6 separate regions of the Homo sapiens genome follow, and all the other regions are linked to region 1. Evidence: promoter capture Hi-C in 16 types of primary human blood cells and fetal thymus (Javierre and others, 2016). All regions are on one chromosome and are shown on one strand. The core of a region is centred on a gene start or on the middle of the fragment in contact, and the rest is flanking DNA. Distances in the headings are between cores, read along the strand shown.

What was found. The method cuts DNA at HindIII sites, captures the fragments that hold promoters and counts their contacts. A CHiCAGO score of 5 or more calls a contact.
Region 2: a contact is called between a fragment that was not itself captured here and the fragment with the promoter of FAM43A in region 1, in 7 of 17 cell types (naive B cells, total B cells, neutrophils and 4 more). The highest score is 10.4, in naive B cells.
Region 3: a fragment that was not itself captured here is called in contact with the fragment with the promoter of FAM43A in region 1 in 2 of 17 cell types (total B cells and naive B cells); the score reaches 7.5 in total B cells.
Region 4: a contact is called between a fragment that was not itself captured here and the fragment with the promoter of FAM43A in region 1, in 4 of 17 cell types (endothelial precursors, monocytes, naive B cells and 1 more). The highest score is 13.2, in endothelial precursors.
Region 5: a fragment that was not itself captured here is called in contact with the fragment with the promoter of FAM43A in region 1 in 5 of 17 cell types (naive B cells, endothelial precursors, M2 macrophages and 2 more); the score reaches 7.1 in naive B cells.
Region 6: a fragment that was not itself captured here is called in contact with the fragment with the promoter of FAM43A in region 1 in 7 of 17 cell types (monocytes, endothelial precursors, M0 macrophages and 4 more); the score reaches 7.5 in monocytes.

What each region holds. Positions count from the first base shown.
Region 1 is chr3:194,682,710-194,687,465 of GRCh38, forward strand. It overlaps FAM43A (family with sequence similarity 43 member A), which reads left to right and starts at 3,174. Exons shown (of 1, transcript NM_153690.5): 1 at 3,174-4,756. The coding sequence starts at 4,118. LOC124909474 reads right to left here and starts at 4,200. Exons shown (of 3, transcript XM_047449428.1): 1 at 3,151-4,200; 2 at 2,629-2,709. The coding sequence starts at 3,544. RefSeq lists enhancers at 169-218, 2,904-3,263, 4,015-4,520, 4,521-4,756 and a silencer at 4,004-4,193. The HindIII fragment of the contact is 4,459 bases long and covers 404-4,756 here.
Region 2 is chr3:195,137,407-195,142,162 of GRCh38, forward strand. All of the region lies in intron 3 of XXYLT1 (xyloside xylosyltransferase 1), which reads right to left. Among named protein-coding and RNA genes, the nearest start is that of MIR3137, 5.2 kb to the left of the region's middle. RefSeq lists enhancers at 1,636-2,137, 2,138-2,637. The HindIII fragment of the contact is 5,122 bases long and covers 1-4,754 here.
Region 3 is chr3:195,063,163-195,067,918 of GRCh38, forward strand. No RefSeq gene overlaps it. Among named protein-coding and RNA genes, the nearest start is that of XXYLT1-AS1, 29 kb to the right of the region's middle. The HindIII fragment of the contact is 7,527 bases long and covers 1-4,756 here.
Region 4 is chr3:195,026,247-195,031,002 of GRCh38, forward strand. No RefSeq gene overlaps it. Among named protein-coding and RNA genes, the nearest start is that of XXYLT1-AS1, 66 kb to the right of the region's middle. RefSeq lists an enhancer at 4,150-4,756. The HindIII fragment of the contact is 2,044 bases long and covers 1,185-3,228 here.
Region 5 is chr3:194,993,101-194,997,856 of GRCh38, forward strand. LOC105374294 (a long non-coding RNA gene) reads right to left here. Exons shown (of 4, transcript XR_924873.2): 2 at 3,160-3,348; 3 at 1,088-1,289. Among named protein-coding and RNA genes, the nearest start is that of XXYLT1-AS1, 99 kb to the right of the region's middle. The HindIII fragment of the contact is 803 bases long and covers 2,389-3,191 here.
Region 6 is chr3:194,967,970-194,972,725 of GRCh38, forward strand. No RefSeq gene overlaps it. Among named protein-coding and RNA genes, the nearest start is that of XXYLT1-AS1, 120 kb to the right of the region's middle. The HindIII fragment of the contact is 1,737 bases long and covers 1,871-3,607 here.

The sequences.
Region 1 (4,756 bases), core at 1,924-4,423:
TTTCAACCACTAGCTTATCTGGTTTGACGAGAAACCATCCACCGAGCAGCATTTCTGCCTGCTACCAGTAGATGGGGGCAGTGTCATTAAAAAAGTACACTGCAGTTTCTAACCTGTTTCCCAGCTCCACTTTGCTGACAGTCTGTTCTGGAGTTGCCCTGTCTCAGATCTGTGATGTGGACTCCCACATGGTGCTGCCAGCTCTCCCAGCTGAAGAAACGCAGCCTTAATTGTGATGTGTGCTTCAGGTGGGGTGGTCAGCTTCTCCATAAGGTGAGGCGGGCCCTAGAGGCTGGCACAGGTCCAGGCCACAAGGGGACCGCGGGTTCTCCTCCAGGGCATGACTCACACCAGGGTGTTCACACTGGCCTAGAACCTTTCTGTTCTCCCAAGGTTGGAAACAAGCTTATTAGGAAGGCGGTCAAGGCGTGACATAGCCTCGTCAACAGGAGCAGCTCTGTGGGCCTGTGCCGCTGGGACTGGCACTCCGGCTGCTGCTGAACAGCCCGGCCCACCAGTAGACTCCTCCCTGCCTCTGTGGGCCACTGGGGTCCATGCCACTGCATGAAGTGCAAAGTGGTGCCTCTCGCTGAGGCTGAGACCAGCCTTAGCTCCTGCTACTACTCCCTCTTCCTCTTCCCCAAACCCTCTTGAGCCTTGGAACTTTGAGCGATTTGGAAATGATCACTGCTTAAACATGATGTCTGCTTTTGTGGAGTTCAAGATTATGGACCTACTAAAGGTCACTGAACACAGCCTCATTTGATATGTTTTTACCAGAGTTTTTGTTCTTTAGAGCGTGTGCTATCTCCTTCATTGCCACTACAAGATAGCCTAGAAATTTAAGGAATTAATGTTGCCTTAAATGGCTTATTATAGTACTAACTACCTCATTCCAACAGCATGTCTGGTATCCCTCCATTAACCCATCAGTGCAGCTGAGGAGTAAGGCATTATAGCTCTGGTTGAAGGACCCTGTGGGGCCAGTTAGCCATGAAGAGGCCATTCCTTCCCTTGGAGTGTAAGAGAGCCAAAAAACACAATCAGGAAGGTTTATTCTTTGATTGTTACAAGCTCCATCTTAATTACTACATGTGTATGCATTTTCTTTCTTTCTTTCTTTCTTTTTTTTTGAGACGGTCTCACTGTGTCATCCAGGCTGGAGTGCAGTGGCGCGATCTCGGCTTACTGCAACCTCCGCCTCCCGGGTTCAAGGGATTCTCCTGCCTCAACTTCCCAAGTAGCTGGAATTACAGGCGTGCACCACCATGCCCAGCTAATTTTTGTATTTTTAGTAGAGATAGAGTTTTGCCATGTTGGCCAGGCTGGTCTTGAACTCCTGACCTCAAGTGATCCACCCGCCTCAGCCTCCCAAAATGCTGGGATTACAGGCGTGAGCCACCGCGCCTGGCCTTATGCATGCATTTTCATGCTTCTGTAATTTTGCTACCCTCTATACCCATAAAGCCCTTCAGTCTTTTCCTATTTGGATAAATTCTGTTTATCTTTCAAAGGTCACCACCTCCATGAAGCCTTTTCTGATTTTCCTAGTCACAATGAATGCTTTCTTCCTCCAGCTTCTCATAGTGCTTTGAGTCTTTCTCATAGCATTTAGCCCACTCTGTCTTCTTGTCCACATGCATATCTTGCTCATTAATTCTAGTTACTGAGTGCCTATTTGTACCATATTGGGGATACAGGGTACTTGCAGAGAACCCACAGTCCAGTGGAAACCCAGAGTTGGGTAGAGTTTACAACCTTCATTGGACTAGGAGGCAGGAATCCCGTCTGCTCCTAGCTCAGGGCCGGGCACCAAAAGGTAGTCAGAAAAGTAACTTAAATGGAAACTCAGCAAAGTAACTTAAATGGAAACTCAGCATCAACGACTCTGAGAAAATTGAGTTAGATTTCAAAGGAAGGTTAAAAGTTGGCAAAGGTAGAGGGTGGGCAGGGGTCAGTTTTATTTTGTTGGAATATCCCAAGGGAATTTCCAGGTATGGTTGCAGTGACTCTGGCATGAAGACCTGGCGTGGAAGCCAGAGACATCAAAGATCCCCAGGGGACTGGGATGGTGGGAAGGGATCACTGTCCTCCTCCAGGACCAGGCTGGGAGTTTGATGCAGGATCATTCGGACATTGATCCCACTCCAGCCATACGTCTTTTTGCTTTGACTGACCATACCATAGAGGCAAGCAGGCTGTTTCAAGGGCCCAGAAATGAGTTACTGGCTAAGGGTCAAGCCGGTCAGAAGACAACTACACTGTCCAGTTGGCACATGATAAAAGCAATACTGATGCAATTATCACTCCCATTGGAGGGTGGCCTGGCATTATTTGTCACTTAAATAAAAAACGTCATTTGAATTTTTACTAGGAATTCTCATCCAAAATATGTCAATGATAGAATGAAACCGCATGACCGGCTTGCCAAAGTAAACTAAGTCCTAACGACACACGAGCATTAGAAATTGTGTGTATCTCAGAAAACTGCTCTACCCTGAGGCCTGACAGCAGGAGGGGGTCTTGCCGGGGTTCGGACGGGGAAAAGCCTTATTCATTGACGGTATTCTACAGTAGTCACCCCAATCATGTTACCACTCACCTCACTTTACACTGTCTGCTGCTTACCTGTGAATACGAGCTCAAGATAGTGAGAGATAAGCCTTGGTGTTTTCTGTGCCTCTCTCTTTTCTTTAATGGAATACAATTCTGAAAATAATATTAAACAGCACCCAGTCATTCTCAGAAAGCCGTCACACAAGGAAGAAACCACTATTTTCCCAAACTTTTTGTACAGGAAATTATAATCTGTAATCTCATCTTCTGCCACCTCCCTCAGAAGTTTCGATCTAGACATACATGTATTCAGTGAGTGGCAATTCAGCCTGGGGGGTGGAGTGTCAGGATTCAAATCTTTTTGCTGCGGGGTAACCCCAGGTCCCAGTGATTTCCATAGACAAAAGAGATGCTGGTAAATTTGGGATGTAATTGGAGGATTGGACCGGTCTCCCCGCTCCCTCGACCAATGGCTGTCACGCGGTCCCTTTAAGAAACCAGGAATCCGCCCGGAGTCGGAGCCCAAAACAGATCCTCTTCTCTGCTCCTCCCCTGTCCCCGCGCGGCGAATGGTTCGCGCCGGCCTATATTTACCCGAGATCTTCCTCCCGGACGGCAAGGATGTGAGGCAGGCGAGCCGGACGCCGCTCGCAGCACCGGAGAGGGCGCACTGCAAAGGCGGGCAGCAGACCGTGGAGAGCCCGGGAGCGGAGCTGGACACCGCCTCGGAGGGAAGAAATGAGGTAGCGGCGGTTCCCGGACCCGGCCATGCCCGTCCCCTGTTCTCGGAGCCCAGCGCCGTCTCGGCCAGGCCAGCCCGGACACTGAGCGGGCCGAGCGCGAGTCCCCGGCGTCCGGCGGAGCGAAGATGCAGTGAGTCCCCGCGGGACTGCTGCGCGGGGCCCGCCGCGGCCAGCCGGACCCAGCATCCGACCGCACTTTGGGCGAGCTGCTGACTTGAGACCAGCCCAAACGGGGGGCTTTCCATCTCCAGCACCCCTCGGAGGTGGGGAGCACCGGCCCCTAGGCACACTCGCTGTAGAGTTTCCGCGGGTTTTGGCCCCAGTCCTGAGGGTTGTGTGTGTTAGGGGACCCACCTCACGTTCGCCGAGGAGTTCCTGCATATTCTTGCACCATCCCGGGTGCTGTTGCTGGGGCTCTCTTTATTTGCACGCGCGCTTCTAGCTTTTTTCCTGACATTTTCCACTCTACGCTCGTTCTTTCTCCCTTGCATTTTGTTGCTTGCCTGAGACTCTTTGCTCTCGCCCTTGCCCAGGCTGGGGTAATTCTGTGTGCGCGCGTGTCTCCCCCGCACCAACCTTTTTTGCACACTCGAAGCTGAATATTTTCTTTTTTAGAGAATTTACCCGCACCTCCTGCGGGGTTCCTAAGCACTCTCTCTGCTCCCCTCCCCCCAACTCCCTACCACAGGGCCGCTCCCAGTAGTTTTATTCTTCGATCTTGCCCGGGCCGAGCCTGGCAGGGGCCGGTGGCTCAGCGGGCCTCGCACCCGGCGCTCCGCCGCCGCCGCCGCCCAGCTGCGCCGGGGCGCCCTCCGGAGATGCTGCCGTGGAAGAAGCACAAGTTCGAGCTGCTGGCCGAGGCGCCGCCGCGGCAGGCGTCCAAGCCCAAGGGCTACGCTGTGAGCCTGCACTACTCGGCGCTCAGCTCGCTGGCGCGGGCGTGCCCCGAAGGCGCGCTTAGCCGGGTGGGCAGCATGTTCCGCTCCAAGCGCAAGAAGCTGCACATCACTAGCGAGGACCCAACTTACACCGTGCTCTACCTGGGCAATGCCACCACCATCCAGGCGCGCGGCGACGGCTGCACCGACCTTGCTGTGGGCAAGATCTGGAGCAAGAGCGAGGCGGGCCGTCAGGGCACCAAGATGAAGCTGACGGTGAGTGCGCAGGGTATCCGCATGGTGCACGCCGAGGAGCGCGCGCTGCGCCGCCCGGGCCACCTCTACCTGCTGCACCGCGTCACCTACTGCGTGGCCGACGCGCGGCTGCCCAAGGTCTTCGCCTGGGTGTACCGGCACGAGCTGAAGCACAAGGCCGTGATGCTGCGCTGCCACGCCGTGCTGGTGTCCAAGCCCGAAAAGGCGCAGGCCATGGCCCTGCTGCTCTACCAGACGTCGGCCAACGCGCTGGCGGAATTTAAACGCCTCAAGCGGCGGGACGACGCGCGTCACCAGCAGCAG
Region 2 (4,756 bases), core at 944-3,443, 450 kb after region 1:
GGTCTTCTGCACCATGGATAAGAGCACAAAGCCATGTTTTCCCACATGGGTAAAGGGTGGGGTAAGGGTGTGCACCTGCCTGTAACCTCAAAGACCGTGAAGAGAAAGGGGCTAGTGGCAGCTTCATCCAAGGCAGAAGGTGATTCCTTCCTGCACAGCACACTCCCTTTCTAGGCCAGGACAAATTCCTTCTGGCTTCAGAGGTGGTGCTGCTGCGCACTCTACATTTAACCTCTCCGTGCTCTGTAAATACTGCCTGCTTTGGCTTCACAGCACCAAGGAAAGTTATGGCTTGTATCGGACACGGAGAAAGGGAGAGGGCTCTGATGGAGCTGCTCTGTGCTTAGTATTATGTCATGTGTACATGACATCATTGTATTCTCAGCTACTTACTGAGTACCCTTAAGTAGGTCCTGAAGGCCAGTGATTCTCAAACAGGAGGAAGAGAGGGGTCATAAACCCTTGCAGGTCAGAACTGGCAGGCAGGCTTTATCAGACACACCCTTTCTGCCTGCATAGCAACATGTGAGTCCCAGATCTCAAATATGCCATGGAAGGGGAGGTTCTCGTTTTATAGCCCATATGCTGGGTGTCTCCCCATTTCACAGATGAGGAAACAGAGGCTTTAAGAGGTTTAAGTATGTTTCGCAAAGTCATTTGGCCAGTAAGTGATGGAGCCAGAAGTCAACCTCAATGACAGAAACTTTGCCAACATTTTAGTCTATCTCCACAATGGCAATAAGAGAAGCAAGTTATCTTCCCAGGAAATTTAAGTGATTTGGTTTTATTCCTGCTAGGGACTTCAGTTCCCTCCGCTTCATGCCATCATTTGAAAATAATAACCAAGCCTTAAAACTACAAGATGTAATTAGAGAGCTGGACACTGGCTGGAGGAATGGTTTCCGTGCCAGGCCCTACCTAGACTGGATTTGTGAGACTAGGAGGGGAGAGGCTGGGCAATATTTTACTAGTCAAGGGCCTGGTCCTTGACTAATAAGGTCATAGCCTTGCAGAGGGAGACACGCATTCATGGGAAGCGTCTGTCCTCCAAGCCTGAGGAGTGAGGGCCACAGCTGGGTGCAGGCGGCCCTCAGAGAGGCTTTATGGAACTGGCAGCATCTCACCTGTGCCTCGAAGAATGAGCAGGGCATATAGAAAAGTGGGCTGGAGGCCAGGTGCAGTGGCTCATGTCTGTAATCCCAGCACTTTGAGAGGCCGAGGCGGGTGGGTCACAAGTGAGGAGTTTGAGACCAGCCTGGTCAGCATGGTGAAACCCCGTCTCTACTAAAAATACAAAAATTAACCAGGCATGGTGGCGGGTGCCTATAATCCCAGCTACTTGGGAGGCTGAGGCAGGAGAATTGCTTGAACCTGGGAGGCAGAGGTTGCAGTGAGCCAAAATTGCACCACTGCAGTCCAGCCTGGGCAACAAAGTGAGACTCTGCCTCAGGAAAAAAAAAAAAAAAAAAAAGAAAGAAAGAAAGAAAGAAAAATGGGCTAGAGAGAGAGCATCCTAGTCAGAGAGAGAGCATCCTAGACAGAGGGAGAGCATCCTCAAGGGCCCCAAGTGTGGAAGACACCTGTGTGGGCAACAGCCAGGGGTTCAGTGCAGCTGAAACAAAAGTACAAGGGGAGCTGGTGAGAGGAGAGGTGGGTGCAGGGAGGGAGTAGCTGCCCCCAGTGTCAGGCTAAGGAGTTCGGCTTTTAAAATTAGTCCAATGTCTAGCATACAGCAGGTGCTCAGGAAAGCTGGAGACAGAGAGTCATCAGTTAGTTTGGGGACATGGAAGTGGGTAGGCGGTCCCTTGGCTGCAAAGCTCCCGGGTAGACAGTCCCTTGGCTGCAGAGCTTGGAGCTGCTAGTGACCCAGGAGACTACGTCTGATGTGAAATGAAATTGAAAGTCGAGCAGAGAGTCTGGCTAAGACCTTCTAAGAGGCGGAAAATGATGTGGAGGCAGGGAGAGGGAACCAGGCCCCCAGAGTCAGAATAGGCAGCAGGAAGGACATAAGGCCTGCTGCTTACGGATCTCTCATCTCTGTCCACAGTCACATTTGGCAAAGGTACCTCCACGTCGCAGGAGTGCAGCCACGGACGCTTTCACAGTGTGCTCAGCCGCTCAGCTGCAGGCATGGGGCCAGCCCTCTAGGCTATATACCTCTTGAGGGTGGGGTCTGTGGCTTGTTCAGAGCCTGGCCCTTAGCAGGTCCTGAAGAAGTAACTGTGGAATTCTTTACTAGATAAGCTCAGATGTGCCAAGATGATAAGACAAAGGCCCCTTCCCAAAAACACTCCCATGACTGAGGCCAAGCCCACATGAATCTCCTAAGTTTATCTTGGGTAATGCCAGGGCCAGGACACATAGGTGAGTTTCACAATGGGAGCCTGCGTTTCCATTCCATTCCCCTCACAGAGTTGGGGTGGGCTGGGCTTGGCTGTATTCACCAACAGTCCCTATGGACTTCTCCCAGATGAGGACCCCTCCCAGCTTCTGGAGATTCTGTGGCAGACATAATACAAGCCCATCCAGGAGGCATAAGGCGACATCTCCCGAGCCCTACGTGCTGGTCTAGGGAGCAACACCCTCTCTGCAAGACATCTTTAGGCTCTCTGGAGTACATGAACACAGGTGAGTCATCCTTTTACAGTCACAGGCTGAGAGGGTGCAGCCCTGGTGAGATTCTGACTTGTAGCTAATGTGCACTAAAAGCAGCTCTTGGGAATTTCTGAGACCAGCCAGAAATCAATGGTGACAATAAAGCATTTACACTTTTGAGCAGAGTTACCTCATCTCAACTTCGATTCCTTGATTCCTTCTGCATGGAATTATGGCCAAATCCCAGTGGTTAGTTCTCAAAATTAGCAAATTAGTCTATAGGCAACGTTAGCACCACCCAATAGAGAAAGCCTAATCCTTCCTATTCAACCCATGCCCAAATACCAGCTCCGGAGGTGGCACGGACTAGCAGAGGATGTGGGAGGCACCCTTACTGTTATGGACAGCATGTATGGCCCCCACCCAAATTTACATGTTGATGTCTACATTAGTCTGTTCTCACACTGCTATAAAGACATACCTGAGATTGGGTTGATTTATGTAGAAAAGAGGTTTAATAGACCCACAGTTCTGCAGACTGTACAGGAAGCATGGCCAGGAGGCCTCAGAAAACTCACAATCATGGTGGAAGGTGTAGGGGAAGCAAGCACATCTGCACATGGCAGCAGGAGAGAGAGTGAGAGAGAGAGTGAGAGAGAGAGTGAGAACAAAAGAGAGAGAGCACAAGAAGGGGGAAGCACTACACACTTTTAAACAACTGGATCTCATGAGGACTCATTCACTATCACGAGAAGAGCAAGAGGGAAGTCTGCCCCCATGATTCAATCACCTCCCACCCAGCCCCTCCTCTAACACATGGGGATTACAATTCAATATGAGATTTGGGTGGGGACACACAGCCAAACCATATCAACGTCCTAACCTCCAGTGGGATGGTATTCGGGGGATTTGGGGGAGTTATTAGGTCATGAGGGTGGGGCTCTCATTATGGGATTAGTGCCCTTATGAGAGACATGAGAGAGCTTGCCTCACCTCTCCCTACCTCTGCTCTCTCCATCATAAGAGGATACAAGACGGCCATCTGCAAACCAGGAAGTAGGCCCTCACCACATACCTGATCTGCCAGCACCTTGATCTTGGACTTCCCAGCCTAAAGAACTGTGAGCAATAAATTCTGTTGTTTATAAGCTACCTAATCTATGGTGTTTATTACAGTAGCCTGAACTAAGACACTTGGTAAGATTCATCTATACAGTCAGGGCACTTTTACTCTTTACCTTGAAAGTCCAGTCAAAAGCCAAATTCCAGTGCAAGAATAGTCCAACACTCCCCTTCCGGCTCTAACAGATGATAGGTCCAGATACACTGTGTTACGTGGCTCTGAAACAATTCCAAATACTTGCATAGTTTGCTACGTGAGTGTCATATGTTTTTCTATGATAAGAACTTGGAGTGAACTCTCCTTCCCCTTGAGAGAAAATGTTACATCATCAAATCTTATAAGACCCCGTATATGACCTCAACTACTGGGCTTCAAATTACGTATAAACTCAAGGCTTTGACATTCTAAGACCTCAGGCTATGGCAGGGCTACACTGCCAGCCACCTCTCTCAGGTGGCAAGTTTATGCCAAAATGAGGCCACACTCTTAACCGCCTCTTCAAAGACCGAGAGCTCAGTGGGGTCACACTCCATTAGCCTTTGAGCAAATCTCAGAACCCTTGCCAGCCAGCGCCAGCCAGCCAATGCTCTGGGAATCTAACGTGTTGTCCAGCATCTCCACTGTGTGGGTCATCTCTCCCAATGGCCACCTGTGTAAAGGTACCCCTCACACTTTAGTTAGACTTTACTTCCCACAGAGGGCTGCTTCCCGCCTAATTGAGCGACTAGACTCTAGTAATTTTGGAAGCCACTCACTCCATGGCTAATGCATTCCCTGAGAGAATTGTTCTCATTATTCTGCCCCTTTTTAGGCATTGTGAACCAAAGGAAAACAAAATCTCTTTGTGTAGCAATAAACCACGTGATTCATGTAATCACAACTTTGATTATCTCCTTATTTCAACCATAGAGAACACGATGCTGACCCCAGCGGTTATTTCTGACCCCAAATATGTAAGCCCTCCACAGCCTCTCTCCCCTGCCTTGGTTCCCTCCCCAGTCTCTCCTCTTCCGACCCTCCCTGCTCCACCACATCAAG
Region 3 (4,756 bases), core at 1,052-3,551, 380 kb after region 1:
GAGATGTGAAGAGGCCCTCCCGCTCTGAGGCTCCGCAGATGAGTGGCCTTCAGCAAGGCTGCTGAGTGTGTCTGCGTGGTGGGACACCTCTTCCCCCTCAGAATGGGGGTGCCAGTGGAGATGCTCTGAGCTGAGCCAGCCTCAATTAAACCGGCCTTCCCTTCACTCTAGAAGGTGTTTTGTTCTTTGCAAGCTCCTTGGGGAGTGGCTGGCTGGTCCGCTCAACACGCCCCGCAGGGTAGCTCTACCTTCTCTCCCTGGTGAAGACTCGGCACTTCCCAAGGTGAGACCAGTGGGGCATGGGACTTTCTGCTGGGGGGGACCCTTTGGAAGGTGGTCACATAGCTGAACGGGACAAGATGTTAGCAGGTATAGCTGTCAATGGATCATAAGCAGAGAGGTGAGGGCTCCTGGGGGACAGCTGATTCTCTTTGGATTGTAAGTGCGCCTCCAGAGTTGGTCTGCACCCCTCACTGTGCCTGTGGAGAATGCGGGAGAAGGGAAGTGTGTAACCGCATACTTTGAGACAGTTTTACTCTGCATGTTCATGTCATGAATCCTAAGTGGGTGAATGACGAGTTGAGGTCTGGCAGTTTCGCATTTGATCTGGACTCTTCTTTACCCACATGTGAACCCCAGTGGCTGCATTTGAAACATGTGTTTCCCCAGACAGCTGGGGGCAGGGATACTGCCCAGAGATCTGGTTCAATCCCTCAGCTCCTTGTTTTTGCAGATGAAGAAACAGGCCCAGAGAGGAAAAAGGTTTATCCAAGGACTCGTGACAGGTTAGCTTTGAGCTGAGGCAGCACTGCCTCCACCTCCTGGACACGCCCAGCAAGTTATCTGTGGACACCTGACTGACAGGTTCACTGTGAGCTGAGGTAGCCCCTGACCTACTGGTTTTTGTGGAGTGGCACAGCCAACAAAAATTGGACAGCTTACAAGCATGCATCTGTTCATCCATGGGGTTACGGAGATGCTACCAACACATTTCATGAGCTCCAAAACGGCTGTAATTTATAATTTAAAAAGAATATTCTAAGTAATAATGGTTAGAATTCCCTTACATCTGTATTATTTCACAGCTTACCAAGTCCTTACACATCTTTTCCTCCTTCCACACTCCTTTGAGGAGCTCTTACCAGTGTCTAGAACTGGGGAAAGAGGTGGCCTTGCCTGTCCAAGATGGCCAGGTAGTGAGGGCAGGATGTGGACTCAAAGCCAGGCCTCCGTCTCGGGTGTGAGGCTGTCTCCACTATACCACCTGCTTGCTTGGAAATTTCTGCTCCCTGCCAACCTCCAGATTTAGCCCAGCCCGTGGGCCTCCCATATTAAGATCAGCCAGGAAGTGTTAAAATTAGCAGAGGTTTGGCCTCTAGTCAAAGCAGGTGCCAAGACACAGCTGCACTTACTACCTTAACCTACAAACTCCTGGTGTGCTCTAGGTTGGGCCTGTGAACCAACACATCATACTTTGACTTGATGAAATGCTGTTGAAGGAGAGGCCGCAGTCTGTTTGGTTTGACACACACAGAAGAGCAAATCTCTTCAGCAAGCCTGCGTGCTTTCCAAAGGCCATCATCATTTGTAGGGTGGACTTTGTGTATACACAAAAGATGACAGTATATGAGAAATGAAAGCAGGGTCTGGAGCTGCTATTATTAGATCGCTTTTATTTGGAGAACTGGGGCATCCACAGGGAAGTTGAAGACCCAGAGCCGACTCAGCCTAGATTATGTGTTCTTAGGGGTGACATCGGCCATGGACAGCCGGGAGCTGTAAGACGGCCAGGCTGACACTCACCTGGAACTGGGGAGAAGGGATGTGGTTAAAAATGTACAGCATTTATTATCTTATAATAAAGGTAATTAATACTCGATGTGGAAAATACAGAAATATAGATGAAAACAAAAAGCACCTTAATCCTAGCACCCAGACATGTTATCTTTTCAGATTTCTGTTTTCCTCATATGTACAGGCGTATTCTCGAGAGTGGGTTTCCATGAAGCAAGTTAAGCACAGCACAAGGAACTATGCTTGCATGACAGCAACTGTAACAGGACCCAGGTCAGGAGCTGGCACTCCACGACTTGTCAAGCACGGCAATGGCGAGGCACAGCAAGCCCCGGCTGCTCTGTCAGCGGGCTGGGGTGTGATCTGTGGGCGGGCTGGGGTGCCTGTGCGGTGATCTGTGGGCGGGCTGGGGTGTGATCTGTCGGCGGGCTGGGGTGCCTGTGCGGTGATCTGTCGGGCTGGGGAGTGATCTGTCGGGGGGATGGGGTTTGAACTGTCAGCAGGCTCGGGTGCCTGTGCAGTGATCTGTCAGCGGGTTGGGGTGTGACCTGTGGGCGGGCTGGGGTGCCTGTGCGGTGATCTGTGGGCGGGCTGGGGTGCCTGTGCGGTGACCTGTGGGCGGGCTGGGGTGCCTGTGCGGTGATCTGTCGGCGGGCCAGGGTGTGATCTGTTGGCGGGCCGGGGTGTGATCTGTTGGCGGGCCGGGGTGTGATCTGTCGGCGCTCTGTGATCTGTCAGCGGCCTGGGGTGTGATCTCTCAGCGGGCTGGGGTGCCTGTGCGGTGATCTGTTTGCGGGCTGGGGTGTGAGCTGTCGGCGGTCTGGGGTGTGATCTGTCGGCGGTCTGGGGTGTGATCTGTCGGCGGTCTGGGGTGTGATCTGTCAGCGGGCTGGGGTGCCTGTGCAGTGATCTGTCGGGGGGCTGAGGTGTGATCTGTGGGCGGGCTGGGGTGACTCTGCAGTGATCTGTCGGCAGGCTGGGGTGTGATCTGTCGGGCTCGGGTGTGATCTGTCGGCGGGCTGGGGTGCCTGTGCAGTGATCTGTCGGTGGGCTGAGGTGTGATCTGTGGGCAGTTTGGGGTGCCTGTGCAGTGATCTGTTGGTGGGCCGGGGTGTGATCTGTTGGCGGTCTGTGGTGTGACCTGTCAGCGGTCTGGGGTGTGATCTGTCAGCGGGCTGGGGTGCCTGTGCAGTGATCTGTTGGTGGGCTGGGTGTGATCTGTTGACGGGCTGGGGTGTGATCTGTCAGTGGGCTGGGGTGTGATCTGTGGGCGGGCTGGGGTGCCTGTGCAGTGATCTGTCGGCGGGCCGGGGTGTGATCTGTGGGCGGGCTGGGGTGCCTGTGCAGTGATCTGTCCGCAGGCTGGGGTGTGATCTGTCGGCGGGCTGGGGTGTGATCTGTGGGCAGGCTGGGGTGCCTGTGCGGTGATCTGTCGGGGGGCTGGGGTGTGATCTGTGGGCGGGCTGGGGTGCCTGTGCGGTGATCTGTGGGCGGGCTGGGGTGCCTGTGAAGTCATCTGTCGGTGGGCCGGGGTGTGATCTGTCGGCAGGCTGTGGAGTGATCTGTCGGTGGGCTGGCTGCCTGTGTGGTGATCCGTCGGCGGGCTGGGGTGCCTATGTGGTGATCTGTCAGCAGGCTGGGGTGTGATCTGTCTATGGGCCAGGGTGTGATCTGTTGGTGGGCTGCAGTGTGATCTGTCGGGCTGGGGTGTGATCTGTCCGCGGGCCGGGGTGGGATCTGTTGGTGGGCTGCGGTGGGACCTGTCAGCGGGCTGGGGTGTGATCTGTCAGCGGGCTGGGGTGTGATCTGTGGGTGGGCTGGGGTGCCTGTGCAGTGACAGTCTGCTGTGCACTGGGGGGTTGGAAGGTCGAGGCCACTGGTGACAGAGGGGAAGCTCCTGAGAGGTTTACTTAAAAGTAAATGAGGGATGTTGTTTGGCCTTTGCCCATTTTGACCAACCAGCTTATTGTTTTTTTCTTGCAACAACAAAATACACACATAGCTATAGACACATTTTAATTATAGAAAGGATTGCAGGGAAAATACCTTTATTATTGTGAGTCTAAAATTCTTTAGCCTTTAACTCACTTTTTTCCCGTTGAAATAATTGTTTTTTTAATGTGGTGTTTGAAACACCTATGTTTTTAGAAGTTGAAATACAGCAGAATAGATGCTCTTTTTATACATACGTGTGTGTGTAGGTATGTATCTATACACACGTGTGTACACTGATATACATACACATATATGTAATTTTAAAAATAGGATCGTATTAAACATATGATCTTACATTTTGCATTCTTTATTTAATAGCACATTCTAAGTATTTCCTGAGGCATTACATATTCTTCGAATAATGCCTCAAGTATTCTGTTATATGGATGAAGCATATTATTCATCTACCTATTCCATTCTTTTTTTTTTTTTTTTTTTTTTTTTTTTAAAGACAGACAGAGTCTTGCCCGGTCCCCCAGGCTGGAGTGTAGTGTCGTGATCTCAGCTCACTGCAGCCTCTGCCTCCTGGGTTTGAGTGATCCTCCCAGCTCAGCCTCCTGAATAGCTGGGCGTGCACCACCATGCCCAGCTAATTTTTGTATAGTTGTAGACACTGGGCCTTGCCATGTTGCCCAGGCTGGTCTTGAACTCCTGGGCTCAAGAGATCTGCCGGCCTCAGCCTCTGAAAGTGCTGGGATTACATGTGTGAGCCACCGCGCCTGGCCCCTCTTTTTCACATTTTAAGTTGCTTCCAATTTTCTTCTACTATAAAAAATGTGATAAACATATAGTATATGACTCTGTCCACATCTCTCACATTTTCTTACAGTCGACTTTAGACATAATGACCTTCATGAAGTTTTCATAAACATTATCAATAGCGTAATAAATCCCCCAATACAATGGCTGGTGCACAGCAGGCATTCAAGAATTGTTACCTATAAATAGGAAATCAAGTAGGTGAGAG
Region 4 (4,756 bases), core at 957-3,456, 340 kb after region 1:
CGAGGCGGGCGGATCACTTGAGGCCAGAAGTTTGAGACCAGCCTGGCCAACATGGTGAAACCCCATCTCTACTAAAAATACAAAAATACAAAAATTAGCCAGGCTATGGTGGCGCACACCTGTAACCCCAGCTATTCAGGAGGCTGAGGCGGGAGAATCACTTGAACTCGGGAGGCAGAGATTGCAGTGAGCTGAGATCGTGCCACTGCACTCCAGCCTGGGCGACAGAGAGAGACCCTGTCTCAAAAAAAAAATATATATATATACATATATATATCCACCAGAGACAAGCTCCTCTAACACAGACACCTGCATGTAAACTATAGGCACAAAGGTAAAATAACAGGAAGGGCCCTAGATTTGGGAGTCAATATAACTGGATTCAAAGGCCAGCCCTGCCCTCCCCTTAAATCCCAGCACATCTTTGCCAACATTGGTTTATCAAACTTTTAATGTTTTCCAACAAAGAGGTGATAAATGTTATCCCATTCTTTTAATTTACATTCCAATGACATTTTAATAGAACTATAAAACACCAGAGTTGAAAGAGACCTCAGTGATCAAGTACTCAAATGCCTTCGTTTAAAGAATTTTTAAATTGAGTATAAGTAATACATTGACACATTATCATGGTAAAATTATATATATATTATATATATATATAGAGAGAGAGAGAGAGAGAGAGAGCAATCTATTGAATAGAAAATGAAAATTCCACTTTGCACCTTCCTCTGACTCTCTTACTGAGGGTAAATTGATGTTCATCATTGCTACATGATGGGTAATTTGCTACATATCTACTTGCATATGTAAATGCATAAAAGTATAGTGAGTTGTGGTATTTTACATAAAAGATATATAGCCGTATATCTTTTTTTGTAATTATTATTTTCTAACAACACATTCTAAGGGTGTCTTAACACATATCTCAGAAATCTTTCTGTATCAGTACACATAGACCTGTTCCACTCTTTGCTCCATAATATCCTATAGTATGGGGTGTATTTGTTATCCATTGCTGGATAACAAATTACCCCCCAAATTTAGCAGCTTTAAAACAAAAACAATTTATTATTTCACACAGATTCTGAGATCAGGAGCCCTGAAACAGCCCCTCATGGTGGTTCTGGATCAGGGCCTGTCGTGGGGTTGCAGCTGAGCTGGCAGGGCTGTGGTCATCTGAAAGCTTGATTGGGGTTAAAGGATCCACAGATAAGATGGCTAACGCCCATGGCTGTTGGCTAAAGGACTCAATTCCTTTCCACGTGGGCCTCTCTACAGGGCTGCTCACAACTAGGCAGCTTCCCCAGGGCAAGGGATTCAAGAGCAAGGAGAGAGAAAACCCAAGATGGAAGCGGCTTAGGTTTTACTAAGCCCGGGAGTGCCATGCCATTCCTTCTGTTACAGGTAGTGAGACAGGCATGAGCAGGGCAGGAGAGGGCTCTGGGGGAATGTTGGGTGATGGTTTGGCAATGATCACACTGCCTCTCTAAAAGTGATAAATTGGCAGCCAGTGCCAGGGAGAGGCCATTTCCTCATGGACCACACCTGCTGCACTAAAGTGTTCATTGAATGCAGGTGCCAGGGAGACACAACTTCCCAGGCATGGTGCATTAAGAGACAAAATGGCAGAGTATGACCCTCTGGGAGCACCCCACAAGAAAAGGGAAGAAAGCCTCAGGTGGGTATGTGTACAACTTCCTATACACACTGTGTAAGGGTAAGGAGGGCACTGCACATGCAGGCAGCTCACCCTAAGGTGAGAATCACGAGAAAGGGGCCAGCCCAGAAAGTCCTCGGATCAAGGTTAAACGCTGCACTTGTTCTGACGTCGCCCGCTTGGGGTCTTTTCCCAGTGTACTTTCTTTCCTGGTCTAAAGGCTTTATAAAAACCTTCCACTCCTCCTCTTGCCTTCCTCTCTTTTTCAGCCTTAGGCCCGTCAGTCAAATTCTTTCTTCTGAGGAGGCAAGAATTGAGGTTGCTGCAGACCCACACGGATTCACCGCTGGTAACTCAGATACCTTCCAACCTTCCACTGGTAACAATTCTGCCATATGCTGTTGGTCAAGCAGATCTTCCCTGGTTCAGTGTGGAAGAGGACTACACTGGGGGGATGCCAGGAGGTGGAGATCACAGGGATTGACTTGGAGACCTGCTGCCACATATGGTCACCAGGGTTATTCTCCATTCTCACAGGTGGCCTCCCGTTTCTCATGCTCACAGGCGGCACTGCCATGAGCATCCTTGGGCATGCTTCTGTGAGTTTTTTTGTTTTGTTTTGTTTGTTTGTTTTGTTTTTGAGATGGAGTCTTGCTCTATCACCCAGGCTGGAGTGCAGTGGTGCGATCTCGGCTCACTGCAACCTCCACCTTCCAGGTTCAAGCGATTCTCCTGCCTCAGCCTCCTGAGTAGCTGGGATTACAGGTGCACGCCACCATGCCCAGCTAATTTTTGTATTTTTACTAGAGACGGGGTTTCACCATGATGGCCAGGCTGGTCTCGAACTCCTAACCTCAGGCAATCCACCCACCTCTGTTCCCACTGAGCATGCCTCTTAATGCCCAGGTACGTCTCTTCTAGTCCTAGTGGTAGAATGGCTGCAATTCTTGCATTTTCAAATGGGAAACTGAAACCAGAGGAAGGTGACTTCTCCAAGGTCATACTGTTAATCGCCTACGAGTCCAGGATGACATCAGTCACCTGACTTCCAGCCTACTTTATTTTCAGAGCCACTCTGTAGGCAAAATACACATGGCCTGAGATTTCAGGAAGTATGTTGAGATAAAGCCTGGCTGGGAATTGCCAAGAGTCAGTTTCCAGAACGACAAAACGTGTAATGGCTAATCTTGCTTTGTAGGCACTACATAAACGTCACTACACTCAAAGCCTAGATTAGCCAATGCATGAATGTCTAATCTGCCTTGATTAAAAGGAAGCTGGTGGAAATGAGGAATCTTTTCCATGCTGTCATTAGCAGAAACTTCGGAGTGAGACAGACCCGGGTTTGAGTTCTGGCTCTAGCTCTGTGACTGTAAGCCAGCCACATCATTCCTGTGTCATGGTTTCTCCATCTGTAAAATGGGAATCATCAGAGTACCAACTTCACAGGCTGTTCAGTGGATGATGTGATGGTGTAGATCATGCACTCAGCGAGGGGCTGGCAGGCTTCCCACAGGAGCTGCTGCTATTTGTATTCTCCCTGTCTGGCCTACTTCATTTATCCATCAAGCTTCCTGAATGAATGGATTCCATTTTCTAAAAAATAGATGGTACCTGGAGAGCTCATTTTATTCCATTTTCCCACATCTTGACTCTGCTGTTAATACCATCCATTATTTTGTGGCCTGCTTTTTGTTGCATACTGTCAGATTTGTGATGAATGTAGCACAGCGTGGGCGTGAAGTCAATACAGAGCCTCCTGAGAGCTGCCCCTGTGGCCCAGCACAGACTACTTCTTGCCCCTTGTGTGGCTGGCTGTATGTGCAACTGTCTCTGCGGGCAGGACCTGAATCCTCCTCACCTCTGTGGCTGTAATGTGTCTGGAATGAATGAATGAATGAATGAATGAATGAATGAACAAATGAAAAAAAGGGATCGGCCGGGCGCGGTGGCTCATGCCTGTAATCCCAGCACTTTGGGAGGCCGAGGTGGGCAGATCACAGGAGGTCAGGAGTTCGAGACCAGCCTGACCAACACGGAGAAACCCCGTCTCTACTAAAAATACAAAATTAGCTGGGCGTGGTGGCACGTGCCTGTAATCCCAGCTACTTGGGAAGGTGAGGCAGGAGTATCGCTTCACGCCGGGGGCAGAGGCTGTGGTGAGCTGAGATCGCACCATTGTACTCCAGCCTGGGTAACAAGAGCGAAACTCTGTCTCAAAAAAAAAAAGGATCAATAGAACCAAATCAACTGAAATGAATGGGTCACAAAGGACATCGCTGGAACATTGAATTATTGCCTGGATTTGGATTTAAAATGTTAAGAGTATTGTAGAGATTTAGAATAACTTTGAGTCCTCCAACATCCAGCAGAAGGAAAGATGGGATACTGTGGGTCGAAGGATGGGGTACTCTGGGTTGAAGGATGGGGTACTGTAGGTCGGGAAAAAGGAAGAGGGGCCAAGTATTGCGCCGGTTTTCTGTGCGATGAGTTTAAGGTGTTTTCGGGCCTCCAGAGTAGACCTCATCTGCTGGGTTGGGTTTAAGGGAGAGACCCATGGCTTTTTACCAGCTGTGCAGCAGGTTAGCAAACAGGCTTTTACCCTGAAGCCACTGGATATCCCCGAGCTTCAGGAGAGAACCCTGGAAACCCTACTGCTCTTCAGAATCAACAAGCCCTGGAATGTTTCTGGCCAGAGCCAGGCAAGGACAGAGATTTAAAGGGGATGTGACAAGTGTCCCAGGTAAGTGACACCCAGGCCCAAACTGGAAGGGTACCAGCATTCTCCCTGTTTGAGGATCCTTGTCAGGGACCTCAGCCATAGGGAACATCTGAGCTTGGCCTCTGAGCCCTTCCGTCCACTCCTAGCACTGCCTCCACAGCCCCAAAGAAGACCCCACTTCTCCTCGAGGGTGGCTGGCCTGCTGGCAAAGACCATTTCCTCCTCCTCCACTTGGGAAGCCAGGGGAGCCTGGCCCGGCCCATCAGCTGGGCCAGAGGGCGGTACTGCCCTGGGGTGCCCTGAGGGAGAAGGGCAGGGCTCCGGGTGCCTGTGCAGTGCTGGGCCTCAGCAGGGGCCTGGCCCAGTGTGACCGC
Region 5 (4,756 bases), core at 1,540-4,039, 310 kb after region 1:
CAGGATGGTCTCGATCTCCTGACCTCGTGATCTGCCCGCCTCGGCCTCCCAAAGTGCTGGGATTCTGTAATCACCACGCTTGGCCTACCTACTTTATTAAATAATGAGCACAACATAGGAAAGACATCACATAAAAGTTGTATTTGTATATTTTTCATGATAGACTCAGGAAACATTACAGTTATATTTGGGGGCTAGAAGAATTAAAATTCTTAAACAAAAACAGTTATTACTCCCTCTACCTGACTCTACTACATTTCTGGATTGAGAATATCCCAGCCTGAGTCCCAATTCCCTATTTCTAAAGTGAGACTTCACCTCTAACGGAAATATGCATAAGACCAGGAACGGTTTTGTACTCCAGGGTGTTTTAATGGCTTGATTAGTCCTTAAAAGGCGTCTCCCCGGCCAGGCATGGTGGCTCACGCCTGTAATCCCAGCACTTTGGGAGTCCCAGGTGGGTGGATCACCTGAGGTCGGGAGTTCAAGACCAGCCTCACCAACATGGAGAAGCCCCATTTCTACTAAAAATACAAAATTAGGTGGGTGTGGTGGCGCAGGCCTGTAAACCCAGCTAGTCGGGAGGCTGAGGCAGGAGAATCGCTTGAATCTGGGAGGTGGAGGTTGCAGTGAGCCGAGATCGAGCCATTGCACTCTAGCCTGGGCAACAAGAGCAAAACTCCATCTAAAAAAAAAAAAAGTCTCCCTTTTGTGTAGCACCCCAGGGGTTTCCCTATTTCTCACAGGACGATGGGTATCTTGCTTTCTCCAGGCAGGGGAAGCATTACCGTCAACCCAAGTGCATCCCAGGGAGATGAGTTTAGGAAAGATCGTCATGCCTGTGAGGCTGAGAATCAGAGCATGATTCCCTCAAAACCTGCAGGGCTCAAGGCCCCTTGGTGACCTCTTCCACCTGCAGGGGTTTGCAGCCCTCACTCTGAACACCGCTGCCTTCGGGCGCTGGCATCCACAGTCTCTCTTCACTGCAGGTTCCGGTGACTCAGTCCAGCTGCCCCCGCCCGCCCACACTTACCCACGGGGCTTCACCCTCGCTGCCTCCCAGCTGCCCCCGTCGCCCCACACTTACCCTCGGGGCATCACCCTCGCTGCCTCCCAGCCCCTCTCACGGAGGAAGGCTGAACATGTTCTCCCTGGAAACTGAGGCCTGGGTGAGGAGGGGCTGCTGGAGAGCAGGAATCTGCTCCCATCTTCAGGACCCTCCCTGGAGAAGGACACTTTCCCACCTCCACTAGATTCTCTGGAAATTCTTCAGTCATCATCTGTATTCCCTGAAAAAAAAAAAAAAAGTGGGGGTGGGGGCACGTTTTATCCCTTAAAAAAGGGAGAAGTCTTTCTTGATTCCCAAAACAGCAGAAAATCAACATTATTTGGCTTTTTTACTTCCAAGACAGACTTTTGGAGTTTGCCAGGCTGGGCTGCTTGCGTTAATGGCAGCATGGATCAGGGAAAATGCCAAGACGCTGAGGTCTGAACACCTGGACTCCAATCCCAACCCCGCACTCATCCACCGTGTGACTTTGAGCAAGTCACTCCACCTCTTTGAGCCCTAATTTAAGTCCAAAATGTGGTGGTTGATACCTGACTCCCAGAGTATGGGGGAGGATTAAATGGGAGCATACACCTACAGGACCCAGGACAGTTCCCTGGGGTCAGGAGATGCCCCGTGACATCCTTTCCATCCCACTGTCCCTTGCTCTCCAGCTCAGAGTCAGGACCCGTCCAGCCCTCTGGGACAAGCCCAAGGAGCTGCTGCCCTATTTCCCTTCTCTAACCCTCAGCCCTAGCACACAGGCTCGGCTCTCTGGGTTCCCCCTTTTGCAGGCAGCCCCTGCCCTGCCCCAGCTCCTGCCCCAAAGCCTTCCTCAGACTTCACAGGGTCCGTGTCCTTCCCCTCTGAGCCTGGACCACTGGGTGTCACACACATGTGTACACTCTTGCACACACCAGTGCACAACCTCCCCCCCAACCCCCTGCCTTCCTAGGGCTCCCTTTGTGGCTGAAGCCAAACCCAGAGAAAAATGCAAAGTAGAAAGAAGAAGAATGGAGTCCATTTTTCACATTCTTCCAGGATCCATGAACTTCAGGGTGCTCAGATGGGAAATGAATATGGGCCTCTTTTTTAATCCTACATCTACTTCATTGTCTCAATTGGGAGAGTAATTAATAAATGATTAATGGGAATGGCTTCTACAAAGATGGAATGATCCCGAGATGTGTTGCAACCTGCTGCCCAGATCGTCTTTAGAGAATTTAGAGCTGCTGATAGCTTCAGGTTGACTCTTTTCCTTTACATAGCAGATAATGCCCCAGGCGGAGGGACTGTCTCCCCAGAGCTGAGCACTTGACTCACATCAAAGGGAAAAACCAAGCTTAACATTAAACAGCGGGTTCAAAGTACCAGAGCAGCCCATCTCCAAGGCAGTGTGAGAGCCCCAGGCTGCGGGCCTTCCAGGCCAGTGAGAGCCAGGCTTGTGCCCTGATGATCGAAGGCACCTTCTCCCACTGCCCTGGGGATTTCATGGGAGCCAACAAGATGCCACGGAAATTAATACATAAATAAAAGGAAGTATAGACCCACAAAGGCAGCAGCAGTGACCTTCGGATGAGATCTTAGGGTTGACTTTGAATTGTTATTTATTGTGCTGTTTTTCTGCATTGAGCTTGCATTATTTCTGGAAACTTTGTAATGTAATTTTTGAAGAATCTGGTACAAGGCATCTGAAAGGCACCTGATTATGTAAAGGCAGACAGACTGAACACAGATGGTCTGCTCAACCCCTTTTCAGGGTGAAAAAATGCTTGGTTCTAAGGTGGGCAGAGGTCCTGAGGACTTCACAGCAGGACCAGGTCAGATGACACGAAGGGAGCGAAGACTCTCACTGAGATCACTCTGCCACCGCGTCCTCTACAGTCTCTGCCAGGCCTCCAGGCCCTCATGCCCTGATCCTGCTGAGACTCCCCAGCCCAGCTTTCCCACGAGTGCCAGGCCAGAGAACCCACAGCCAAATGTATTTTCAAAGCCAACGACAGCTCTGCCTCCACTTGAGTGAGCTTAGGAAACGCAGGAAGAAAGGAATCCAGGCGCCCAAGAGGTGAAAGGAAAGAAGTGCTTTACTTGACCAAAGGTAGAACACGTACTTCCGGGGGGTGCAGAGCTCTTGACTATTCGAAGCTTCCACATTTGAATTTCGCTCCAGAAGGCGCAGTCCGGGCTTTGAACTGCTTTTCTGCTGGAAAGCAGCACCACCGTATCCCCTGGTTTTGTGCTTCCCTTGCTACTGACTTAATTGAAAGTCCAGTTTCCATCCTTCAAAATGTAACCTAAACCTGAAAATGTGTAGAGACACAAAGTAGATGAGGGTGTCGAGGGGTGGGTGTAGGGATGGGGATTAACTGTAAATGGGTGTGAGGGATCTTACTGGGGGTGAAAATGCTCTAAAACTGGTTTCTGGTGATGGTTGTGCCACTCAGTAAGTTACTAAAAGTCATTGAATTTTACACTTAAAATGATTGAATTTCATGATCTGTAAAATAGACCTCAATAAAGCTAGTCATAAAAACAAAACAACAACAACAAAAACAAAACACCCATTCTTATATAACCTCCTCTCCAAACTCTTCCCAGCTGCCATCACGCATGGAGCTGATCACGCCCTCCTCGGAACGCCTGCAGCTCTCTGGGTTTCCCTCCCTAACCTGTGAGATTGGTGGTTGTTCCTGCCTCTCCCATCTAGACCAGGCCCCGTCATCTCTGACTGCCCTATGTCTCTGCCCCAGGGTCGCCCAACGTCCTGAAAACCTGCCTGGCCTGAATAAATGAAGGGAGGACGGGGGACAGCTTGCAAGCTCACTCTATGAGCTCCATTGCCCAGGCCTTCTTGGCTTCCGGGAACTTAACTGGACACACAGACCTATTTCATTCACACCCCCAAGCCACCCCATCCCAGGCCCAGTGGGACAGACAAGATCACATGCCTTGTGACCCAAAACTCAAGGACACTGCTACATCCAAGCACAGAAGGAAGTCGCCTCATCGAAGCTCTTATGCTAAGGTATTCATACCCCCGTTATTTATAACAGTAACAAAGCTGAAAGACCAATAGGGCATTGGTTAAATAAAAGTACCACCGTAAGAGGCATTATATAGTGAATTAAAAGGATATTCCTCAAAACAATTTAATGGATGGAAGACTATTTACAATATCATAGCAAGCCACAAAAGCAGGTTGTAAAAATGTAAACTGTATGTATGATCCCTATCTGGTTTTTGTAAGTAAAAACTGGAAAGAATAGCAAAATGTTTACAGTGTATTTGTGGATGCTTTTCATTTCTATCCTTATACTTTTTTGCATTTTCTAATTTTCTACAATGAACATACATTACTTATTTAAAAAATCACTTAAAGAATATAGAAAAGCCCAAAGAGTAATACAATAAAAGCCATGTAGCTGTTCCCTAAAATTAGGAAAGATCCTATTTTATTTACATCAATCTCATGTTTTTAAAGAATAAAACAAAACAGATTAGATAAAATCTTCTTTAGATAATATCTTCTTTATTCTCTTCCCCAGTCCTAGTCCCTCCCAACCTCTCCAGAGACAACAGCTTTTTTAGATTAGATGTAGATCCAGTCCATGTTTTAATATTTGTATTATATTGACTACATAGAATTATAATAGATTTTTGGGCCAGGCGCGATGGCTCACGCCTGTAATCCCAGCACTTTGGGAGGCC
Region 6 (4,756 bases), core at 1,489-3,988, 280 kb after region 1:
CTACCTCTGCCTGTCTATGTCTGTCTGTCTGTCCATCTCTATCTCTCTTCCTCTCTCTCTTACATACATACACACACTTACAGGAAAACCACCTAGAGCTTCTCTCAACCGCTTTTGGGTAGGACTAGAGGGCTGTCCCGTTGGCAGAAGAAAAATGGGGAGAAGCCATTGCTCCACTATGTTAGAACAATGTTCCTAAGTCTTTAACATGCACACGAATCTCGGTGGTGGGGAGGGTCTCGTTCAATGTCAGATTCTGGCTCAGCAGGCCCATGGCCGGGTCTGAAATTCTGCATTTCTAATAAGCTTCTAGTGGTGCTGAAGCTGCTGGTCTATGGGCCACATGTTGAGTAGCAAGAGATTAGAATGAACTCCCCATCCTGTGGGGATCTGTAGGGGTTACAAGAGGAGGCAGAAGTAGCCCAGGAGAGAGAGCCTGCAGGATGCTGCCTGTTGAGGATGGATGCCCAGAAGGCCCGTGTCTCCTCGTGATTCTGCCACTATGCCTGCTCCATCAATTCAGAAGATGGATACTGACAAGATACAATTAATTTAATGTATTCGGCAGAATGTGTCAGGAAGTCAAAGAAAAAACTCCATGCACATCTCAGTAAGGACTGTTAAGACATTTGATAACATTTACATCGATTTCTGAAATAAAGGGAAAATATACTCCCTTTATGTGATAATATCTCTTCTAAACCAACTTCAAACATAACACCTAATGGCCGTTACTAGAAACAATCTTATTAAAGTCAAGGACAGGCAAGAATATCTGTTAATTAACACTCTTCTAAAATGTGGGACCAAAGCATATAAACCAGAAATAAAAAGTGTAGCTATAGAAAAGAAAGAGGAGACACAGTTATAATTTGCAGATGGTATAATCATCATCCCATAAAACCTAAGACTCATCGGAAAATTCTTGGAATTAATGAAAGAGCTTGATGAAGTAATAGAATACATAAGAAGCATAAAAAGCAATAACTTTCATGCACACATATCTAGTGATCAGTTCAGGAATATGTGTGAAAGTTTCCTTTCACACAGGACAATGAAAATAAGACCAAAATGTAGAAATTAACGTCAATTGTTCATTTTAATTTTAATTAGTTAACAATCAATAAAACATAAAACTTTACAAAGAGATATAAAAGACTTGGGTGTGGTGAGGACACCCGTGCTTCCAAATTTTGTTGCTGTTGTCTCTTCTGCTGTACTATTTGTCCTTGTACATTTATGCCTTGAAAAAATCCAATATGTTGTCTCTAATGTTATCAGACAGCAATCACCTAAGGGGCCTGGATGAAATAAACCACCGGTATTGACTGTATATATTACAGCGCAAATCCACTACCAAGAGAAATGAGGAGGGAGAAGAAAAAAGCAGGGGATGGGAGGAAAAGAGAGTGTGGTTTAGGCCATAGGGGGGTTTTGTGGGGGGAGGGGAACGTGGGATATTTTTTCTCTTAAATGACATCTTCTAAGAAGGTGCATCTCCTTTGCAAGAATGTATCTCCTTTGCAAAGCAAGCTGACACTAAGTAACAAGAGTCCTGAAAGTATTCAAACTCTTTAACCCAACAATCTCACCATTTGAATCTATCCCAAGGAATAACTTTAAAATCTCAAATAAACCTCATAACAAAGATGTTCACCAAAACATATTTATGATAACAAAAAAATGAAGATAATTTAAATGCCCAACAGTGGAAACGTTTCAGGAGCCTATAGTGCATCTATTTGGTAAGATATGTTACACAATCATTGAAAACAATGCTTGCCAAGTGTGATAAAAACACAGGAAACATTCACCTTCAACAAAAAGGCTGCATAAAATTCAATATGTACCATCCTCAAAAACATTAAAAAGCTTTGCCTAGAAAAGGAATGAAAGGACATGCCCCAAAATGTTAACACTGAGTAGTTTTAATTTTCTCTGTTTCTACTTTTCTAAAATGAGCAAGTATTTCCTCTTAAAGTATACAATCCAATGGTTCAGTATATTCAGTCTGTGCAACCACTGCCAACATCAATTTTAGAACATTTTCATCATCTCAGAAATAAACCCTATACATTTTGGCTATCACCCTCAGCCCCCAATCCCCTCAGCCCTGAGCAACCACTAAGCTCTGGGTCTCTTTATAGATTTTCTTATTCTGGATATTCCGTATAAATGGAATCATACAATACGTGGCCTTTGGTGACTGGCTTCTTTCACTTCCTTCAAGGTTCATCCGTGTTGAGGCATGTATTAACACGTTATCCCTTTTGATGGCCAAATAATATTCCATTGTATGGATGTACCATATTTTGTTTATCCATTCATCAGTATATAGGCATTTGGGTTATTTCTACCTTTTGGCTATTATGAATAATGTGGCTCTAATCATTTATGTACAAGTTTTTGTACAAAATGACAAATATTTTCATTTCTCTTGGTCATATCCCTAGGGAATAGAATTGCTAGGTCATATGGTTACTCTCTGTTTACTCTTTTGAAGAATGGCCAGACTGTTTTCCAAAGTGTGTCCCCCATTTTACATTCCCACCAATAGTTTATGAGGGTTCTGTATATCCTCACCAACTCTTATTGTTATCTGTCATTTTTATTATAGCCTTCCTATTGGGCATGAAGTGGTATCCCATTGTGGTTTTGGTTTATATGTCCTTGATGGTTAATGGCATTGAGTATCATCCATGTTCTCAATGGCACTTTGTATATTTCCTTTGGAAAAAGAATAAACACTTATATCCTTTGCCTGTTTTTTAATTGGGCTATTTGTCCTTTTATTTTATTATAGAGTTGCAAATATTTCTTCTTGCTTTGATGTTGTTATTTTTTATCGGGCTTTTTTTTTTTTAGACATTCTTTTGATCTTTTGACAAATCAGAGAGCCCAGCTCAACTTCTCACACACTCTCCAGGTATTTTTTAAGAAACGAAACATTTTGGTACAAGCCAAAATGTTGTTCTCTAGGTAGCAACTAATTGTGGCAGACATTTGTCTGTTTTGTGCTTGTTGTTGGTTTGATGGCCCAGCATCTGGAACCCTTCTTGTGTTTGTGAATTTACTACCTCACGAGTATTTGTAGGAAGCAGAGCCCTTCCTCCACGATGGATGCCAAGAAGGCCAGATTTGTGCTTTTTCCAGTGTCTCCTGCAGCTAGGACACGAGAGCATGGCTTAGACTCAGCCAGTCAGATTCCTACCTGCCCCAGATGTGTGCTAGGATCTGCTGAGGGGAGGCAGGAGGGTCACCAGGAAAAACATTGCAGGGATGGCTGGACCTGTGATGGTAACATTGTACAGAGGGGTGGCAGCAGGGGCAGCAGTGTGAGTGCCCAGCGTCACAGGTGCTGGTGGCAGTGGAGTGGCAGCCATGCCAGCTGAGGCTCTGTTTCCCAGCAGATGTGACAGCGGCATCCTCTCTGCCTGGTTCTGAGCTGTGGTTTGGTGTAAACCTGAGTGCTGCTAGCCTTTCTGCTCCAGCCCATTTTATAAGCTCAGTCCTGCATCTTTCCCAGTGATATGGTAAAACATCCAAGATTGGGAAGTTTCTTTTTGTTTTAAATTAGCATAATTGCTTTCTACCATTGCTATTAAGAAGCTTGACTAGCCAAAGATGATGTTCCTTTTCCTGAGAAATGCCACATGCAATGGGACACTCAGAATCGAAAGAGATAACAACCACTTTGGACTGTATTTAGTATGAGAAGCTCAAACAGATGCTAGGCTCAACTGATCCCCAACAAATATTCTAGTTGTCAAAGCAACCCCTGCAGGCACCAAAGCACTCCAACCTAGACACAACCTGGGTAAGAATGATTTACTGTTGTACAGAGAAATAGTTTAAACACACAGAAGCAAAAGAATGTCTTGTCTACGGTGGTACAGAGTCCTGATGTATGAATCCAAAATATGGCCCTTATAGCATCGGGAAGTAACCAGTTTCGTGGCCCAGCTGGACCAAATGCTGGTATCGACTGGGTGTGTTATAGGCAGAACGCATGATTCTCAGGTGGCAGCTAGCCTCCACGATGGCCCCTAATGATTCTAATGTCCTGGCATTCAAACCCTATGTGGTCTCCCTTCTCACGTTGAATCAGAGCTGCTCTGGATGACAAACAGAAATGACAGAAGCTACAGTGCATGGCGTCCAACGCTAGGTCATAAAAGGTACTGCAGCTTCCTCCTTGGCCTTTGGATGGCTCACCCAGTATGGGGAAAGCTGGCCACTGTACTGGGAAGACACTCAAGCAGCCCTGCAGGCTGGAGAGGAACTGAGGCTCCCACCAACAGCCAGTCCCCAGTCCCCCGCCATGACAGTGAGCCACACTGTCCTCCAGCATCAGAAAAGCCTGTAGAGGACTGCAGCCCTGCCTGACATCTGATCACAACCTCTGGAGAGACCCCAAGCAGGAACTGTCCAGCTCAAGCTGCCCCTGCCTTCTGGATCCTCTAAAGGTTGGGTGATTTGTTATGCAGAAATGGATACATAATACACCAACTAATCTTCCATCCAGTTCCTTTCTATTTTGGGAAAACCCAACAAATTCCACTGCATGGGCAATGAGAACACTCCAAAACTACTCATTCAGCAACTTGTATATTTAAGAATGCTGTTTTTCAAGTGTGGTGCATTGCTCTGCAGAACTGGCATTTTAAAAATAAAATTGGATTCATTTCCCGTAGACATGTTGCTGGTAATGTTCTGGAGAGTTGTTTCTCTTTCTAGAAGGGTTGGAGGTATAGAG